Linked DNA regions of Homo sapiens: region 1 is linked to region 2. Evidence: promoter capture Hi-C in human tissues and cell types (Jung and others, 2019). All regions are on one chromosome and are shown on one strand. Each heading gives the region's core, a stretch centred on a gene start or on the middle of the fragment in contact. The rest is flanking DNA. Distances are from core to core; before and after follow the strand shown. Region 1 overlaps TNC (tenascin C). Region 2 holds the start of ORM1 (orosomucoid 1).

The links. The method cuts DNA at HindIII sites, captures the fragments that hold promoters and counts their contacts. A contact is called where the count stands out against the background at its distance.
Region 1: a fragment that was not itself captured here is called in contact with the fragment with the promoter of ORM1 in region 2 in 1 of the 25 tissues and cell types used here (spleen).

What each region holds. Positions count from the first base shown.
Region 1 is chr9:115,019,939-115,023,429 of GRCh38, forward strand. It overlaps TNC (tenascin C), which reads right to left. Exons shown (of 28, transcript NM_002160.4): 28 at 1-1,329. The coding sequence ends at 1,219. Among named protein-coding and RNA genes, the nearest start is that of TNFSF8, 91 kb to the left of the region's middle. The HindIII fragment of the contact is 3,565 bases long and covers 1-3,034 here.
Region 2 is chr9:114,320,498-114,324,564 of GRCh38, forward strand. It overlaps ORM1 (orosomucoid 1), which reads left to right and starts at 2,601. Exons shown (of 6, transcript NM_000607.4): 1 at 2,601-2,750; 2 at 3,166-3,308; 3 at 3,521-3,591. The coding sequence starts at 2,637. The HindIII fragment of the contact is 10,741 bases long and covers 1-3,666 here.

The sequences.
Region 1 (3,491 bases), core at 2-2,501, 700 kb after region 2:
TTGCATTAGAAAATGAGTATAAAAGCATCTTTTAAACCATAATCTATTAGTCTTGGAAATACTGAGCAAGATGCTGAATCTCAAGTTGTAAGCTTTTTTTTTCTTTTCTTTTTTTATTTAGAGACAGGGTCTCCCTCTGTTGCCCAGGCTGGAGTGCAGTAGTGTGATCATAGCTCACTGTAACCTCTAACTCCTGGGCTCCAGTGATTTTCCTACCTCAGCCTCCTGAGTAGCTGGGACGACAGGTGCGCACTACCACGCTTGCCTAATTAAATTTTTTTTTTTTTTTTTTTCTGTAGAGACAAGTTCTCACTATGTTGCTCAGGCTGGTCTCAAACTCCTGGGGTTAAGCTATCCTCCCACCTTGGCCTCCCAAAGTGTTGGGATTACAGGCCTGGCCTGTAAGCTTTTCCCAAGTGTGTTCAACTTTATTTAAAAAAAGTGCTTCCCTCTCTCCCAGTCTTTAGTCTCCTTTCCACCCCTCCCACTTGACCACTATCCCTACTTACCTTTCCTATCCCAACATTCCCCGCTTTGTTCAAATGATTGGCTTTGGTGAAATTCAGACTCAACAATTCAAAGCAAAATAACAAACTCAAAAGTACTTGTGCTTTTATTTAAAAAAAAAATACAATCAGGTACTGTCCAGAAATGTTTTGGAAAGAAAGATCTCTTGAAAAATCCTTAGTTTTCATCATCATCATCATCATTATTATATTAATAATATTAATCATATCCTTAAAATGGAAACAGTATTGCTTTTCTGGTTTCTGTTGTATGAAATGTAAAAAAAGGGATGGCTTCCAATGACACATTTAATCTTTGCTAACAAAAATAATGACAATTAATTATACAGCTTCATGTAAAATACGGCTGGTTCTAAAACAAACTACCCCTGTACATCCTACCCCTCTCCCATTCCCAGAGCCACCTAAGAGAAGTAAAAAACTATTGCGATGTTGTCACTGGGAGATTTTTGCTGAATCAAACAACAAAACAGAAACATGTTGGAGACTGATGTCTTTGGTGCAAAGAAAGAAATCACAGAGGAGGTGAGGCCCATGCTGTTGCCGTTGGCCCCAGGGATCCATGGTCAGCTTTGACTCTCACCAAATGCCCAGGTGTGGACCGATGGTTGGGCTGGTTGTATTGATGCTTTGGTAAAATCCTTTCCTCGCTCTGGGCCTTATTCCTCTCTCACCCAGTGGTCCCTGGAATTTATGCCCGTTTGCGCCTGCCTTCAAGATTTCTGAAGTTGCTTGGTCTCAGCTTCATCTCAGCAAACTGGATTGAGTGTTCGTGGCCCTTCCAGTGGAACCAGTTAACGCCCTGTTAAAAAAAAAAAAGAGAGAGAGAGAGAGAGAGAGAAGGCCTCCAGGTTGGTTACTGTTAGGCGAGGTGTTCACTGATCATTGCTATTTAGTCATTCAAACTAAATGAGTTCTGTTTCAATTTGACCATTTGGTATATCACAGCTGCCTCTTGCCTATCTCTCTGTTGGTCTGGGTTGTGGAAACTTTCAAAGGAACTGGCTGAATCTGACCCAGTTTTTCACCTGAGTCAAGAGTCGCCTGAGTTTGCATGGAGCTTTGGTCTTTCCTCTTGAGGCAAAATGGTGGCTGATGAAATCTGCCGTCCTTAGGAATAGGTTCTGAAGGAGTTCAGGTCATTATTAGAAGTTCTAGAATTGAATAGCTACATACATGGTGTGTGTGTGTGTGTCTGTAATTCACGAGATTCCTATGGAGTATTTTGATAGGGGTTTGGTATGGAATAGCAGAACGAACAGCTCAACAAAACACAGTTTTACAATTTGACATATAGGGTTAAATATCAGTGTTCTTACTTGAGAGATAAATAGTCTTAAGTTCTCAATATCTTCTGAGCCTCGGTTTTACTATTTTTTTTTCTTTCTTAAGATCTGATAATGTTAGCCTTGAAAGATGAGATGAAGATTAAATGAGTTTGTAAAGGAGCTATCACAGAGCTGGGCACGTCGTAGGTGCTTGGTAAATATTACTTCCCTAGTCTCAAGTAGGGGGAAATATCCTTGAAATTTTGGCCAAAGCTTTCTACAAGAAAAAACTGTATCTGTGTCTTGGCTTCCAGGTTTCAACTTTGACTCTTCAGCGAAGTCTGCAGATGGTAGAGTCAATCCATGAAACCCCACATGGCCCCTTGCCCCACTGTGGGGAAGTTAATGGCTAGTGAGATGGGAAAAAAATAGAGACACTTTATTTGCTTCTAATTGTTTGGCATTCACTGACATGGGCAGTTTCTGAGTCTTACAGGGATGTGAGGTTTAAGAATGGCTCATTCATTTCATGGGCAAATCCGCTTGTAATTACTCAGTTACAGTGAGTATGGTAGTCCAACAGCTTGGTGCACATGCTGCCTGCCTTTGCCCTGGTTCTTTCCTCTGATAGTTCAGGGTTGGAAGCCACGCCTTCTTGTACTGTGGTGGGCACTAAAGCCAGAGAGGGAGAGTGACTTTGCAGAGGCCACACAGCAGGAGGAGCAGAGCTGGAGCTGGGGCTCCCCTCCTGTGGCTCCTTTCCATGTCATCTCTTTCTTCTTCCATAATTGAATGGAAGGATGAAAGAGAGGCTTGCTTTCTAACATGTAGCTTGTTGGTTTTTTTTTTCTTTTCCCAGAAGAACTTTGTATTATACGAGTATTTTTGAGACAAGGCAATAAAGATGATAAAATAATGCTCAGAATGGAAATATTGATGAAATAACACAATAAGATGGAAACAACACAGGACTGCTGTCAAGAAATGTCCTGTGACTCTTGCCTCCTCTGTAAAACAGGCATGAAAAACCACATCCTAATTCCTGCACAGGGTAAAAATGATAAACCCTTGAGATACAGAAGGTAACAGTGCTTTGAAAAGTGCCAGAAATTATGTAAGGTAAGGTCTACACTTAAGGTCGCAGGTGTCATTTGCTAGCAGTTAATTAGGGCATAAACATGTGTATCAAAGTGACTAATATTGAAAAGCAACAGGTCCCAACACCTGCTGCATGTCAGGAATCGCTTGTGGAGTCTATCAACTGCCTCCCCCCTGACCCCACAACAACAAAAATGCAAATATGCAAAAAAAAAAAAAAAATGAGATGCTGTGTCTTGCCTGAGATCATTGAATCAGAATCCCTGGGGTTATCATAAAGTGGAATTTGGCCCTTTGCATTTTTATAAAGTCCTTGGGATTCCAGTGAGCAGACCTCATAAGCATCCTTGTGGTCCAGGGATCAGCGTGGTGTGGCCCCAAGGGAAGATCCAGCCCTCCTCCCAGGGATGGTGACTAACTTCTGTGGAGGGACCTGGGCAGGGGTTTGGTTATGATTAAGTGGCTAGTCCCACACAGCTTTACACTTTTCAGGAATGTGCCAGTGTAGGCAAGGCTCAGAGTAAGGGAGATTACTGAATTTGATCCGTTCGCCTATTTCTAAAAGGGATCGAAAAAAATCTGTTTCTGTGATTGTAGA
Region 2 (4,067 bases), core at 1,351-3,850:
GGTAATTTTAAAAGGGAAATTGGCTGCTCTCTGACACTTATCATCAGAGGAAAAATCACAATATGAAATGCTGTTAGATAGGCTGGGAGTGGTGGCTCACGCCTATAATCCAGCACTTTGGGAGGCTGAGGCAGGAGGATCACTTGAGGCCAGAAGTTCAAGACCAGTCTGGGCAACATAGTGAGACTCTGTCTCTACAATTTTTTGTTTTTTAAATTTAATTAGCCAAGTGTGGTGGTGCATGCCTGTAGTCCTAGCTACTCCAGAGGCTGAGGTGGGAGGATTGCTTGAGCCCAGGAGTTTGAGGCTGCAGTTGAGCTATGATTCATACCACTGCACTCCAACTTGAAGAGCCTGAAAAAAAAAAAAAAGTGCTGTAGACATAAAGGACATGACTAAGTAGGTTAGAATATAGTAAGCGGGCCAGGCGCCGTGGCTCATGCCTGTAATCCCAGTACTCTGGGAGGCCGAGGTGGGCAGATTGCTTAAGCTCAGGAGTTCGAGACCAACCTGGGCAACATGATGAGACCCCCATCTCTACAAAAGTACAAAAAGTTAGCCAGGTGTGGTGGCACGCACCTGTGGTCCTAGCTACTCGGGAGGCTGAGCTGGGAGGATCTCTTGAGCCTGGGTGGCAGAGGTTGCAGTGAGCCAAGATCCCACCACTACACTCCAGCCTGGGCGACAGAGTGAGATGCCATTTCAGAACAAAAACAAAAACAAAAAAAGAATAGAGTAAGTGAATGAAAAGTTGTGCATCCATTACACTTTTATTTATTTATTTATTTATTTATTTTTGAGACAGGGTCTCTTGCTCCATCATACAGGCTGGAGTGTAGTGGCAAAATCACAGCTTACTGCAGCTTTGAACTCCTGGGCTCAAGCAATCTTCCAGCCTCAGAGTCCAGAGTAGCTAGGCTTTCAGGTACATGGCACCAGACCTGGCTAATTTTTTTGTTTGTTTGTTTGTTTTCCTTGAGACGGAGTCTCACTCTGTCACCCAGGCTGGAGTGCAGTGGCGCCATCTCAGCTCACTGCAAGCTCTGCCTCCCAGGTTCACGCCATTCTCCCATCTCAGCCTCCCAAGTAGCTGGGACTACAGGCGCCTGCCACCACGCCCAGCTAATTTTGTTTTTGTATTTTTAGTAGAGATGGGGTTTCACCATGTTAGCCAGGATGGTCTCCATCTCTTGACCTCATGATCCGCCCGCCTCAGCCTCCCAAAGTGCTGGGATTACAGGCGTGAGCCACCGCGCCTGGCCGACCTGGCTAATTTTTAAATATTTTTGTGTAAAGATAGGGTCTCACTATGTTGCCCAGGCTAGTCTTGAACTCCAGGACTCAGGTGACTCTCCCATCTTGGGTCCATTAAGCTTTTAACTACAAACTACACTGAAATATGAAAGTTATTCAGAATGAAATGAATAAGAATGCAAAATTATAATCATACCGTAAGAATACTTTCTGAGTAATCCCAGCACTTTGGGAGGCCGAGACGGGTGAGTCACCTGAGGTCGGGAGTTCCAGACCAGCCTGGCCAACATGGAGAAACCCCATCTCTACTGAAAATAACAACAACAAAAAAAATTAGCTGGGCGTTGTGGAGGGCACCAGTAATCCCAGCGACTCAGGAGGCTGAGGCAGGAGAATCGCTTGAACCCAGGAGGCACAGGTTGCAGTGAGCCGAGATTGAGCCATTGCACTCCAGCCTGGGGGACGGGAGTGAAACTCCGTATCAAAAAAAAAAAAAAATGAATACTTTCTGAAAGTATTTATTCATACAAATAAAGACTTGACCCGTGAGGTAGGAACACAAATGGGCCACGGAATCACTCATTCCACAGAATATACCGAGTGCCCTTGAAGTGCTGGGCACTGCTCCAGGATTGGGGGCGTATTGGTGAAAGAGAAGCAAGCTGCCTGCTCAGATGGCAGGGAATGGGGGAAAACAGGGAGACAGTTTCCTGTTTGAGATGTTGGGAGATGCTTCGAGTAGTATATTTACTGGAAATAGACATTCAACTTGGATGTCCCTTTTTGGAAATGTGCCTGCGTCCAGGGCTGGGTTGGGGCCCCAATGAACTTTGGCTCTGACACAGCTGTTGCCACACTCAGTGGAACTGAATCTATGTTTGTCTTCCCCGGCATCCTTCACCCCAACTCTCCCCGCCACAACATACATCCCATGCCAGCCTGGGGACCCTCAAAGGTGGCTTCATCATTAGGTTTGTGGCTGGGTCCCACTGAAGTAAGTCTTGGCACTCAGAGGGATAGGAATTGAATGAAGACATGAGATTCCTCTGCGGGAGGCCTCTCTAGGAAATCTGTGGACTCACACGTTTACTAATGTTGCTGCAGCCCCGCACCCACCTTGGCCTTGGGCAGCCATACTCTAGGGCTTTTGTAACCTCTCCATGTGAGGAACTCAAATTAGACCTGGGTTTGGAGGCGGTGCTCCGAGCTGGCCTTTGGGGGAGGTTTTGTGCGAGGCATTTCCCAAGTGCTGGCAGGATTGTGTCACAGACACAGAGTAAACTTTTGCTGGGCTCCAAGTGACCGCCCATAGTTTATTATAAAGGTGACTGCACCCTGCAGCCACCAGCACTGCCTGGCTCCACGTGCCTCCTGGTCTCAGTATGGCGCTGTCCTGGGTTCTTACAGTCCTGAGCCTCCTACCTCTGCTGGAAGCCCAGATCCCATTGTGTGCCAACCTAGTACCGGTGCCCATCACCAACGCCACCCTGGACCGGGTGAGTGCCTGGGCTAGCCCTGTCCTGAGCACATGGGCAGCTGCCTCCCTTCTCTGGGCTTCCCTTTCCCTGCTGGCTGTGGTCGGACCCCCACTCCCGGCTCTGCCTTTTTCTCTTCTGGGTCCCCAGGGTGAAATTCTCACCAGCCCAGGGGACTCTGGAGGCACCCCCTGCCTCCAAACACAGAAGCCTCACTGCAGAGTCCTTCACGGAGGACGGTTCTGTGCTGGGCCTGGAGGGGCTGCCTGGGGGGCAATGACTGATCCTCAGGGTGAGCTCCTGCATGCGCACTGCCCACCAGGGGCCTCATCTCCCCATCTGCAAAATCAGGGAGAGATCTGCCTGAGTCTCCTCCCAGCTGACAGTCAAAGATTCAGCATCAAGCCCCCATCACCAGCTCCCACCTTCTCCCCAGATCACTGGCAAGTGGTTTTATATCGCATCGGCCTTTCGAAACGAGGAGTACAATAAGTCGGTTCAGGAGATCCAAGCAACCTTCTTTTACTTCACCCCCAACAAGACAGAGGACACGATCTTTCTCAGAGAGTACCAGACCCGGTGAGAGCCCCCATTCCAATGCACCCCCATCTCAGCTTCTGGCCAGAAGACCTGAGCAAGTCCCTCCTTCTTCCTGGCCTTGGCCTTCCCATGGGTGGAACCGGGAGGGCTGGCTTTAATCTCCACCAGACTCTTGCCCCAGGACTGTGATGGGCGATTGGCCACTTCTCAATAATCTTCCTGTTTTCCTTCCGCCTTCTGTTTGGCTTTAGACAGGACCAGTGCATCTATAACACCACCTACCTGAATGTCCAGCGGGAAAATGGGACCATCTCCAGATACGGTGAGGGCCAGCCCTCAGGCAGGAGGGTTCACTGTGGGAACAGGGCAGGCCAGCATAAGGTGGGGGCTGGATGTAGAGCCCTGGAGGCTTTGGGCACAGAGAAATAACCACTAACATTTTTGAGCTCTAACGATGTGCTCAGAAACAACTCTAAGAGGACACTGAGAGAATTAGAGGAGGAAAAAGAAGAACAGAGACCTCAAATAGTTTCCCCAAGGTCACACAGCTTATAATTAGAACTAGAATTGGAACTCCAGGCTGGCTTCAGATCTGCCTCTCTCTCATGCCCTCTTTAAGATCCTTTGCAAACCAATGGTAGAAGCCTGTATGTTGGAGAGGTGGTACCTTCAACTATGTCCCCCATCACCGCAGAGGTGGCACATGGCAGGGAGCTGATGGAGCTGAACTGACACCATTTAGCATCCCGAGCCTCCTCTCTGGGCCTCATTTTCCTCATCTGTAAAACGGAGAAAGGC